Linked DNA regions of Homo sapiens: regions 2, 3 and 4 are each linked to region 1. Evidence: promoter capture Hi-C in human tissues and cell types (Jung and others, 2019). All regions are on one chromosome and are shown on one strand. The core of a region is centred on a gene start or on the middle of the fragment in contact, and the rest is flanking DNA. Distances in the headings are between cores, read along the strand shown. Region 1 holds the start of AGO2 (argonaute RISC catalytic component 2). Region 2 overlaps TRAPPC9 (trafficking protein particle complex subunit 9). Region 3 overlaps TRAPPC9 (trafficking protein particle complex subunit 9). Region 4 overlaps TRAPPC9 (trafficking protein particle complex subunit 9).

What was found. Contacts are between HindIII fragments. The study calls those that stand out against the background at their distance.
Region 2: a fragment that was not itself captured here is called in contact with the fragment with the promoter of AGO2 in region 1 in 1 of the 25 tissues and cell types used here (hippocampus).
Region 3: a fragment that was not itself captured here is called in contact with the fragment with the promoter of AGO2 in region 1 in 1 of the 25 tissues and cell types used here (mesendoderm cells).
Region 4: a fragment that was not itself captured here is called in contact with the fragment with the promoter of AGO2 in region 1 in 1 of the 25 tissues and cell types used here (mesenchymal stem cells).

What each region holds. Positions count from the first base shown.
Region 1 is chr8:140,634,192-140,637,072 of GRCh38, forward strand. AGO2 (argonaute RISC catalytic component 2) reads right to left here and starts at 1,442. Exons shown (of 19, transcript NM_012154.5): 1 at 1,294-1,442. The coding sequence starts at 1,315. It overlaps ERICD (E2F1-regulated inhibitor of cell death), which reads left to right and starts at 44. Exons shown (of 1, transcript NR_170171.1): 1 at 44-2,881. RefSeq lists an enhancer at 1-447 and silencers at 254-303, 787-956, 1,607-2,006. The HindIII fragment of the contact is 25,430 bases long and covers 1-2,881 here.
Region 2 is chr8:140,211,384-140,214,264 of GRCh38, forward strand. The region is part of intron 17 of TRAPPC9 (trafficking protein particle complex subunit 9); the gene reads right to left. It overlaps LOC124902029 (a long non-coding RNA gene), which reads left to right. Exons shown (of 2, transcript XR_007061118.1): 1 at 1-768. Among named protein-coding and RNA genes, the nearest start is that of PEG13, 110 kb to the left of the region's middle. The HindIII fragment of the contact is 6,293 bases long and covers 1-2,881 here.
Region 3 is chr8:140,299,321-140,302,201 of GRCh38, forward strand. TRAPPC9 (trafficking protein particle complex subunit 9) reads right to left here. Exons shown (of 23, transcript NM_001160372.4): 11 at 1,149-1,294. Among named protein-coding and RNA genes, the nearest start is that of TRAPPC9, 160 kb to the right of the region's middle. RefSeq lists enhancers at 1-233, 234-734. The HindIII fragment of the contact is 8,746 bases long and covers 1-2,881 here.
Region 4 is chr8:140,360,682-140,363,562 of GRCh38, forward strand. The region is part of intron 8 of TRAPPC9 (trafficking protein particle complex subunit 9); the gene reads right to left. Among named protein-coding and RNA genes, the nearest start is that of TRAPPC9, 96 kb to the right of the region's middle. The HindIII fragment of the contact is 7,619 bases long and covers 1-2,881 here.

The sequences.
Region 1 (2,881 bases), core at 192-2,691:
CCTTGTTGAAGCTTTCTAAATGACATCAGAAAAAAGACGCGACATTCGCAAGGCACAGAGCCAACAGCTCCAGCAGTGGGGGCCACCATCAACGGACCAAGGTGGGCCAGGGGGCCTTCCGGACCCCACAATTTGGGGCCGGTCTGCAGCAACGAGGGCAGCATCGGGAATGCGAGCCTCCTCGCCCGGCCGGGTAAACATAAGCCCAGAGCCCGGCGGGGCCTGCGCCGCCTGCGGCCCGGCTGGGGCCCAGCGGACAAAGGGGAGCAGGCGGTGCCCCGTCCCAGCGGCCAGGCCGGCCGAGAGAGCCAGGAGCCACGTGCCCGGTGGGAGCACGCCAAAAGCAGGAGAACACCTGACCGTTTTTTTGGCCCACCAAGGAGACCGCCTTCTACTCTGCATTTAAAAAGAAAAACAACGCGTTACCGCTTTAAGTTTTTTAGAACTTTTCCAGAGAAAGGCCGACTAGCAACAAGGGGTGCTACAGGAATCCACCTCGCCTCACCTCTCCTAGGAAATTGTAAAAGGAATTAGCACTTGAATGGGGAGGCCGGCGTGTCTGGAATGAGAACGAGCCGCGCACGCAGTTTGAGGGTTCCGGGGAGCCGCGTCCTCCCCTTTCCAGGCGACAGCCCTAACTACAGGAATTGGCCAAAATTCAGCATTTCCAGACTTTCCTTGGGAAAAGGGGCCGAAGAAGTGCCGGCAACAAGAAGGGCCACAACGGAGCGCGCCACAGACTCACCGCGGCTGGGGTCGGGACCGGCGCAGCCCCCTCCCCTCCCGCCCGTGCGCGCCCCGAGCCGGGCGCCCCGACCCGGCCTCCACCCGCTCAGGCGCTCAGGGTCAGGCCGGGCCGGGCTGCGGCGCCCCCATCCCCGCCCGGGCAGCGAGGCCGGGCCAAGCGGGGCGCTCCGGGCCTCGGGCCTACACGCGGCGGCCGCCTCGGCCCCGGCCCCAGCCCGCGGGCCCCGGGCGGGGGATGCGAGGACGCTGGGACGCGGGCCCGAGGCGCGGGAGGGGCCCAGGCCGCGCGGGGCGCCCCGACGACTCGCGGGGGCCGAGGAGGCCGGGGCTGCGCGTCCAACGCGGGGCCGAGAAAACGGCCGGCTCGGCCCCGCCGCCGCCGCTCCTCGAGCCCCCAAGCGCGGCCCCGGCTCGCCCGCCCCCGGCCCCCGCCGCCCCGACCCCGCGGCCCCCCGATCCCCGGCCCCTGCCGCCCGCGCCGGGCCCGCCAACCACGGGCAGGAGCGCGCGAACGGCCGGGCGGGCGCCCCGAGCGCCAGGACTCACCGGGGCCGGCTCCCGAGTACATGGTGGCGCCGCCGAGGGGCTCCGGGGCCGAGGGGCGGCCGCGCGCGCGCCACGGGCCCCGACGCCGCGAGCCGCGAGGGAGCCGCCGGCCGCACGATCCGCCCCGGCGCGGCCGCCTCGCCAAACAGGTTTACCCGACGCGGCCGGGGCGGCGGGCGGAGGCGGCGGCGGGAGCGGGAGCGGGAGGGGCGGGGGAGGAAGGAGGAGGGAGGGGGAGGGGAGGCGAGGCCGGCGGCGGGAGCGCGCTCGCGGGGGGAGCGGGGCTGGGCGCGCGGGCGGGGTCCGCGGCGGCGGCGGCGGCGGCGCCGGGTCTGGCGGGGCCTGGGGCGGGGACCCGGGGAGGGGCCCGGAGACCTCGCCGGGCGGTGGGAACCGCGGGCGGGAGCGGGGACGAGGGCCGAGGGCGGCGCGGCCCGTGTGGCGCGGGGGCGGGCGCGGCCCCGGGGACCCTTCACTGCCACCCAGAGAAGCCGCGTCTTCCCGACGGGGAGGAGCCGGGCCCCCCGGCTGTGCCGCCGGAGCCGGAGGGGAGGCCACGCGCCCCCGCTTTCCCCGCCGCCCCCCGGTGGGGGGCGCAGAACCCTCCCACCCTCAGCCCCTCGGCCCCCAGCCTGGCTCTTTAAGTTACTACAGAAACACGGAGGTCGGGAAGCTCCCTCCCAGCCCGGAGCTTGAACTTGAACGCGGCCGGCCGCTCGCGCAGGACCACACCGCCACCTCCCGGCGCGGCCCCAGAACCCAGATAATCCGTTTAAAGCACTGAGAAAATCTAAGAAGTTTTTAGTAAACTGTAGCTGGTATCAGGGATCAGATCAGCGGACACGCCCATTCCAGCAGTCAGGGGCCTGCTCGGACCGTCGTGCACCTCCGAGCGTTTCTGTCCGGTCCCTCTGGGTCCGTCTGGTTTTCGGAGGCTTTCCTGGAAAAGCCAGCCTGTGGCTACCTCCTTTCTCCCCTAAGTGATGGAGGATTAGAAGGCAGAGGTTGACCCACAATCTAAAGTGCCTGGTCGCCTTTTCCCAGATTTCCCGGAGCATTCCTTCACCCCGTGGCATCGGCTGTCTGCATATGGGTGCAAGGCCCTGTTCCGGGCGGAGAATAAACAGGAGTTCTGACTGACAGGAGCTCCGCAGCCAGCAGGGTGGTCACTAGTTCTCTGCAGTCTCGGAGGACAGCCCTGAAGAAGGGCAGGAGAACCAGCACTTCCTCCGAAAACTCAAAAGGACATCAGTCTTCACCAAGTTGCCGATACAAAACGTGCTCCTGAAATGTGTAGTAATGAACACCAGGAAACCTGGGTAGGAGTGTGCATGGCATTCTTCATCACCGCTTGGACTGCATGGCACTGAATACCCACGGAGAGCAGGATGGAGAAACAGTGTGCTCATATTCACAGGATGGAATCTAGCCATTCACAAAAATTCCAAAACAGGCAAAATTAAACTGCATTCTTTAGGGAAGCATCATTAAGTAGTAAATAATTGACAGAAGGGCAAGAAGGTGCTTACTCTAAGTGTCAGAATGGTGGATACAGCTGGGGGTGAGAGGGCTGTGACCACAGCAGGGC
Region 2 (2,881 bases), core at 126-2,625, 420 kb before region 1:
TCCTGTCTCTGCAAAAAATACAAAACTTAGCCAGGTGTGGTAGCACGCACCTGTAGTCCCAGCTACTTGAGTCGCTGAGGCAGGAGAATCACTTGAGCCCAGGAGGTCAAGGCTACAGTGTGCTGTGATCACACCACTGCATTCTAGCCTGAGCAACAGAGCACAACCCTGTCTCTTAAGAAAAAAATATAAAAGTATATAGAAACTTCATAAACATCCCACAATTCTTTATTTTAAAAGCTAAAGTAACGTATTTTACATGACGTATCTGAATGTTGTTAGAATCCCAAAAAACCCAGAGTTAAGCTTTATTCTGATCGAATGAGATAAAACATACTTTACTGCCTTGCTTTGCCTCACTAATGAAGAGAATCTTCAGGCAACCCCATGGAGAGGGGCTGTCTGGCCTCACTGTCTGGAATATCCGGGTCAAGAAATGTGTACAGAAGGCATGCTTCACAAGCCCATGGCCACGAGGCGCTTACAGTGATGGGGAGCTCAGCAATATAAGCAAAGGACAACAGTAACAGTGTGGGAGGTGCTACCATCCAGGTGGGAACGGACAGCAGACGAGGACACAGGAAGAAGGGCCTGACTCTGGGTGTGCCACTTGCGGAGGAAGGCTCAGCAGACCAGGTGACCTCAGAGCTCACCCAGGAGGACAGAGGAGCATGCCATGAATGAAAGGAAGTGAGCAAGAAGGCCCAGCCAAGCAAAGAGCCTGCGCTCAGGACCAGCAATGCAAGAAGACACGCCTCATCCAGCCAGGTAAGCAGATGCGGATGGCTGGCCTCAGGCAAGCGCAGGCCACCTCTCATGGTGAAGGACAGGGGTAGCTGCCCAGGGCTGGTAGATGCATTTCATCAGGCAGAGGAAGCTCCATCCTGTTTCTGATTTGCTGAGAGTTTTCATTCTAAATAGATGCTGGGTTTTTATCAAACGCTTTTTCTGTCTCTTGAGATGGCATACATAGTTTTCCATTTTCAGTTTGCCAATATGCAGAATTACATTTGCAGGTTTTCTCATGTTAAGCTAACCTTGCATTCCCCAGATAAACCCCAGTCCGTCAATATTTTACATAGGGTTAAATAGTAGATGCTCAATTTTTGCTTAAAATTTTTGCATCTGTGTTCAGGAGGGATATTGGTCTGTAGTGCTTTGGGTTGTACTCTTTGGGGATTTTTTTCCCCCATGATCTCTTTGCCTGGTTTTGGTATCAGAGAAATGTTGACCTCACAGAATGACTTAAGAAGTATTCCTTCATTTTTAGGTTTCCTGAAGGAAGAGTCTACATAGATTTCATATTATTTCTCCCTTAAGTGTTTGGTAAGATGCATAAGTAAGCCATCTGGCCCCAAAATTTTCTCTATGGGAAGGCGTTTTTTTTCTTTTGTCTTTTTTAAGAAGTTTTTTTTGGCTGGGCATGGTGGCTCACACCTGTAATCCCAGCACTTTGGGAGGCCGAGGCAGGCAGATCATGAGGTCAAGAGATCGAGACCATCCTGGCCAACATGGTCTCTACAAAAAATATAAAAATTAGCTGGGCATGGTGGCGCACACCTGTAGTCCCAGCTACTTGGGAGGCTGAGACAGGAGAATCGCTTGAACCCAGGAGGCAGAGGTAGCAGTGAGCCAAGATCGTGCCACTGCACCACTCTAGCCTGGTGACAGAGCAAGACTCTGTCTCAAAAAAAAAAAAAAGTTTTTTTGTTTTTTTGTTTTTTTACTTTCTAATCTTCTTTTTTGTTGACTTTTTTATTTTATTATATTTTCCATTTCAATTTTCTTTCTGAGCCCTCATGATCTCATATGGGAAGGTTTTAACAAAACATTCTGTTTCCTAAGTGGCTATGTCTATTGTGGTTGTCTATATCTGTGTGTAAGCATTGGTATTTTGTGTCTTCTAAGGAATTTGTCACATCATCTCAGTTTTCACATTTATTAGCATAAACTTTTTATAATATATTCTTATCATTTTAATATCTATAAAATCTGTGTTATGCCAACTCTCTCATTTCTAATACTGTTAATTTGTGTCTTCTCTCTGATCAATCTGGCTGGAAGCTGATGAATTTCATTAACTGTTCTCCAAAAATAAGCTTTTGGTTGCTTTGTCTATGTTGGGTTTCTGTTTCCTATTTCATTGTTTTCCACTCTGATCTTTATTATTTCCTTTTCTACTGACTTTGGGTTTAATCTACATTTTTTTTTTCTAATTTCTTAAAGTGAAGCACAACCTCTGGCTCCCACAGGAGCTTCCCATGAATGAAGCTACAGCTATTACACCTACCTGCTCAAATGTTAAGAGATAAGATGTTGACAAGGGGGAGCAGGAACCAACAGGCTCCCCAAAGCCAACCATGCACAGAGCTTAAGGGAGGCCTGGCCCCGCCTCCTGGCAAACTAGTTTCGTTAGGATTTCAAAACTGCTTTCCAGCAAGCTATAAGCAGGTGTGGAGTGTTTACAGAGCAGTATTGCACATGGAGGGTAGTAGAATCTATTCAGAGCCAGAGAGCACACCACGATAAATGGCTGCAGCCGTGCATGCTGGTGTCCGCTCCCTGACTGTTCACAGTCGTTCCAGCCACTTGGAATGCTTTATCCTCCAGGTCTCAGCTGGCTCCCACATCTCTATGCAGCTCTGAAGGCTGTGCATAAGTTGGATGCCTTCAACAGGCAAAGCCATGGGTACCTCTAGTGCCACACGGCACACAGTCCAACTCAGGGAAAAGCCTCCTGTTGCCGGGCATTTCTGCAGCCCCAGTCCGTGATGTGGGCACCAAGTTTGGGCCCTTCTCAGAAGGGCTCTCAATGGAGCCCCTGCCATGTTCTGGTTACGATGACATGTTTTAGGCACGTCATATCCAACTCAGAGGGTAG
Region 3 (2,881 bases), core at 122-2,621, 330 kb before region 1:
GCCTGCAGTCCGTAACTCGGGGTGTGGGTGAGCTTGCGAGTGCAACAGGAAGCCTCTGTCCTGGAAAGAAAAGCATGGTGGAAAAAGGAGCCGGAATGCCTTCTTCCTAAATTGGAGGTACAGGAATTAAGAGTAGAAATAAAGAAACAGAAGGAGAAGAAAGCACTGGATATCAAACACAGAGCGCCGCGGTTGCGCAGGCCTCCCGCTCACACTCCTCGGAGGCCCCGGCAGTCGCCAAGCAGCGGCCAGCCTCCAGGCCCTCAAGGTTCTGTCACAGGACGTGTGGGCTCAGCCGGCAGTGGTCCCCAGTGACTGGCAGTCACAATCTCCTGCAAGGGGCCTCGGGCATGTCTTTGTGGCAGCAAGGGATGGGGAGCTTGGCACTACAGCCGGGCTTTGGGAAGGACACCAAGGGACAGGGCCGGTGGTGCATGCTGAGCCCTGGTGCAGGAGGGACGAGAGCTCAGACACAGGAAAGCTCAGGAGAGATTGTCCACTCCCAGTCTCTCCCACAACACAGCTTAACCCAGGACTGACTATCCTGATCACCTGTGTTCACAAAAGAACATAACACGATTACCTCACCCTCCACTCAGTCCTGAACACCATCCAACCCTGAATCTTTCTCTGATGACTCAGAAGTCACTTCAGCCCTTGTAAAATCAGTCTACATCTCCAACTGTCACTCTTCTGTAGTTCACATAAGTCTCAGTTAACAAAAGTCTTTCTGGTTTCCAGAACTTTCACAAAATTACCTTATATGAAATAAATTTTTTAAAATCACATCTATGGGCAATTGCCTGCCAAAAGCAGCAAATCAAATAAACTTCCATGACAGACTGCACACACGCACACACACGCACACATCTGTGCACACATCCACACATGGACACATGTAAACACACATATGCATGCACGCACGCATGCATACACACATACACGCACATATGCACGCATGCACACATACATATGCATGCATGCACACATGCACACACATATACACACATATGCATGCGTGCACACATCCACGCACGCACACACATGCACATGCATGAACTGGCTCAAAATGCTGTTCTAAAAATCTAGAAAAGCCATTGGAAATCAGGTGGCAGAGCACGGTGGGAAAGCCAGGATCGACGTCCTACCTATTTTCTTGTTCCGCTCTTCTCCACGGTTGTGTGCGATAATTGGTGAATAGATGAAAGGACTTTTGGTTGACACGTTCTGACCCAGCAAGCTTTTCATTTTGTGTGGCCGGAGGCTAGCAGGAAGGTTCAATAGTTTCACATGCCTGTTGTTTCAAACAGAACACAAATACTTCAACTGTCTGGTTAGCGTGGTTTCAGGATAAACATAACCAAACATGATGTATCAGAAAAACAGTAAATCAGTCAGAAGGAAGATAAATGGAGGGAGGAAAAGCACTCCGAGGCATCAGGACACAGCAAGGAAGTGTTGCAACAGTAACTCAAGATTCTCCCAGACAGGGGAAATCACTCCCTGGAACTGGGGGAGCAGCCACTTCCCTCTGGGGACTCCTGAACTGGGCCCAAGGATGGTCTGGAGTCAGAAAGGCCAGCTTGAAATCTCGCTTCACACTTACCAGCTGTGTGCCTTTGGGCACGTGCCTTGCCATCTCTAAGACGTAGGTTCCTTGTGTATAAAGTGCAGGTGGGGCCACCACCTTCCCCATGGACCCATGGGGAGGATCCAGCTAAAGACTCCTGGCACAGGGCCCACTGCCTGGCCCAGGATGGCTCTTCTCTCTCTGCCTCTCCCTTTCCCAAGGGACCTGCCCACAGCAAGTGGCAGCCAGACTCTGACCCATGGGAAGAGATGGCACCCATGAGAAGGTCAACAGCACCCTCTGCTCTACTCGCATGCAGCAGCATCTGTATCTGTCATCGCTTCCCACAGTATCCCAGCTGTGGATGTCTGCCAATCTGTACTCATGCTCGAATTCATCCAGCTAGCATTAAGATAAATTTACCAATCCATGGAGTCTGAGCATGAGCAGGCACTGTGCTAACCACTGCATATGTATTCTCTCACTTAAACATCACAAACACCTTCTTAGTTTGGGTACTATTACTATTGTCTCCATGTCATCAATAAGGAAACTCACGCAAGAGGGACTAAGTATACTGTCGCAAATCCGATGGCTGGAAAGCAGTAACAACAGGTGACACTATGCTCTTAAACCACAGTACTAGAAGGTGCTGTCACCCTTGTGACCAGTTTGGGAAGACGGTGGTTAAGATCTGGAACACTCCTGGACGTCAGACAGAAAGGACAAGGAGCAGAGGTGGGAAAACAGGAAGACTGATAGTGACACTGATCGTGATAAATCTACGTGCTCCCCACCCCCCGCCTCCCGGCCTCCGCAGGAAGGTGAGGCCACCTGAGGAGCTCTGGCCAGTAGGTTGTGAGTGGGAGCCACCGAGGCCTCTGTGAGACACACACTTTAGAGTGACGGGCCAGCCCCCAGCTCTCTCCTTCGGCTGCACGGCCATGGTGATCCTGGAGGCTGGACATTGAGAAGGTGGAGCACCAGACAGATGCGGCCTGGAGCACTCAGCAACCTCCCAGAGCTCAGCTGCCCTGGAGAGCCACCCAACCCACACCAAACTTGTGTGAGGGAGGTAGAAACTGTTGTTACAGTAAATCACGAAGATTTCAGGGTTAATTTTTCTGCCACAGTGCACCCTAACCTATACTGCATAATAACAACTGCCTTACAGAATCCACAAAATCACCACCTCTCTCAGTGAGGAGGGACCTCAGATGCCTCATTCCAGCCTGCTCTGTGCAAAGCATGCCTACAGCACTCGGCAGACAATCCCCACCACAGACCCACATCCCAGCCCCGGGGAGCCTG
Region 4 (2,881 bases), core at 97-2,596, 270 kb before region 1:
TTTAGCATCTTTGAATTAAAGACGGAGAAATCTGGATGCACAGACAGTTGAAAAGTATCTCTTTTTTTAAGAGATGAGGTCTTTCTCTGTCATCCAGGCTGGAGTGTGGTGGTGCAATCACAGCTTACTGCAGTCTGGACCTCCAGGGCTCAAGCAATCAATCCTCCCATTTCAGCCTCCTGCGTAGCTGGGACTACAGTTACACACCGCCATGCCCAACTACTTTTTTTTTTCCAGTAGAGACAGGGTCTCCCCATGTTGCCCAGGCTGGTCTTGAACTCCTGACCTAGAACCATCCTCCTACCTTGGCCTCCCAAAGTGCTGGGATTACAGGTATGAGCCACTGCTCCCAGCCAATCTGTGTTAACACACACACCCTGCCAATGGCTCTGATAACCAACCACACAGACTGGCTAATCACTGCTCCAGCTGATCCAAAACTTAGACCATGAAAAAACGCATAAATGCACATTCAAACTCTGACAAAACTGCCACGCACTGAAAGTCCGTAATAGCTCACGACAGTCGGTTGGTTAACAAGTATTTACTGAGAACACAATACTGTGCAGGGCAGGTTCTCGTGCCATTGACACTCTTGTGGGAAGAGTCAGGCCTCAGCCCTGGGAAACAGCATGCTGGTGGATGCTGGGACGAACACAAACAGTAATAGTGAGGGCTGATGGGGCTGAGAGATGCTGCGTCAGCCAGGGCAGGTGGGCAAGGAGGTGACATCTGGGGTGAACCCTCGATGAGAAGGGGGCCACGCCAAACTGTAAAACGGAGACAGTAGTCGGAGTACAAGTTAAAGTTATAAGGCTTCAGTGCAATAACCCATTTAAAGCACTTCAGCAGTTTATTTATCATAAGTTCTCAATAAATGCTAGTTGCTATTAATATTATTATTCAATGAATATAATGTGGTTAACACACAGGTCAACCTTTGACTCTAGCTGTGACATGATTAATGATCCAACCTGTTCCACTGTTTCACTAAGAATGAGTCCTCCATTTTTTTAAATCCCTATTGAGATTATTTATTAAGTAAAATTACCTGCTTGTGTGTCAAAATCCCCCATTCAGGTATGACTTCCTGTACCTGAAGACTGTGCGTTACTTACTATTGCATCCCCAGGACAGGGCCTGACGTGAGACTGGGCGCTCGGCTGAGGCTGACTGGCGAGCAAACAGAACAAGAAGGGATGCCTCCTCCCTAACGCAAATAGCAGGGGCCCTTCCTTCTATCCTAACCTTTCTCTGTTTGCCCATTGATATTTGAAGACGTTGCTCCAAGGGTTCCACCGCTCACAGCCCTTCCTGAGCTCTTCCCTCAGCACTCTGCCCTGCACAGCTGACCAGTCCCTCTTCTGTATTTCCGCTGTATTTTGCACAAATTTCAGCCCACAGGAGTTATCTGGCAGGTACCATAAGGCACCTGTAATCTCATGTCTTTGTTTCTCTCATCAATCCTTAATTTCCTTGGGAGGCAGGTTTATGTCTTATCCATTCAAGTGTCCTTAATGCCTGGCAGGGTGCCTGATAACAAAGTTGGTACTTAACACACACGTGGATCAAGACGTAAGGCTGGTGAAAGGAAACCCTCCCATGTTGCGGACGTGCATACAGCTATGAAGGAGTACAGTGATGTGGTTTCTAGGATCTGCTTTAAATACTTCAACAAAAAAACCAATAAAGTAAAAATAAAGCCAATGTGGTCAAATTTTGATAATGATTTAATCTGGGCAATGGACACAATATTCTATTCTATCCTCTCTAATTTGTATATATTTAAAGTATTTCTCCATAACTTCTCATTGAAATCCTTGGAGCTGACCATACACACACTTAAAAAAAAATAAAAATAAAAATAAAAAAAACACTACTTTATATCTTAGTAGTTTATCTTCCCGACATCTTTTGGAATATAAAATGGTAGTACTTCTCATACAACTGCAGGAAAGGAGAGAAAGACGAGTCCCTGCAATATTCCACATTGTCAAAAGAAGCCAAGACCAAATGCCAAAATGAAGAAGAGATTTTTTTAAAGATTATGAAGCTGAAATCAATGTCATGACTAACCTAGCCATGAATTCAGAAAGACCCAATTTAACTAATCTCAACACTACCATATCCAGAAGGTTTTCTCACATAAGAATTGGGCAAATATCACTTTGCTGATTCTTTTAAAAATAGATAATGATCCAGTTCCTACCACGGGCGATTATGAGTAAGACCGAGTATACATTTTCTTAACAGTAAATAGTGTACAAGTCATAATTTCTATGTGGCTCAAAGTGCTCTCCCTATAAAATGTGAATTATTTTTCTGAAGGCAGATTTGCAGCATATGACCCAGTGATAAAATTTTCAATACTCTTGTAATCAAAAATTTCACCAATTTGGAGGTTTATTTTGTATATGAACTATTGCCTTTTAGCAAATCCATCTGCCTTAGCAGTCTCTTTCTTTCATAAGAGTTCCTGGGCAAAATTTAATCCCTCGTCCAGGAAAAGGCATGATCAAAAATCTTCATATACAGCAACACAAATAAGATTTAAATGATACTAAGCGGCCCCTTAAGCCGGCAAGTACACACAGCACACATCAGTGTTCCTTCCTCGACCGTCTATAACCAGCTAGTGCAAATGTTCATTTCAAGAAAAAGAATACATTTTGGGACCTGAGAATACAGACAATTTGCCTTTTATTTACAGGTACAGGGTGTTAGTAGACTTCCATTAAATTCTCTGGGAGATGTTTAAAGCAGTCCAGAGCCACAGTGGAGATGGGGTTTAAAGTGACTTTTGTGTTTTGTTAAACATACAGCCAGCTGACATTTATCATTTTTAATCTCAGCCAGTCACCTTCTTTCTCTAGCCTCTTTC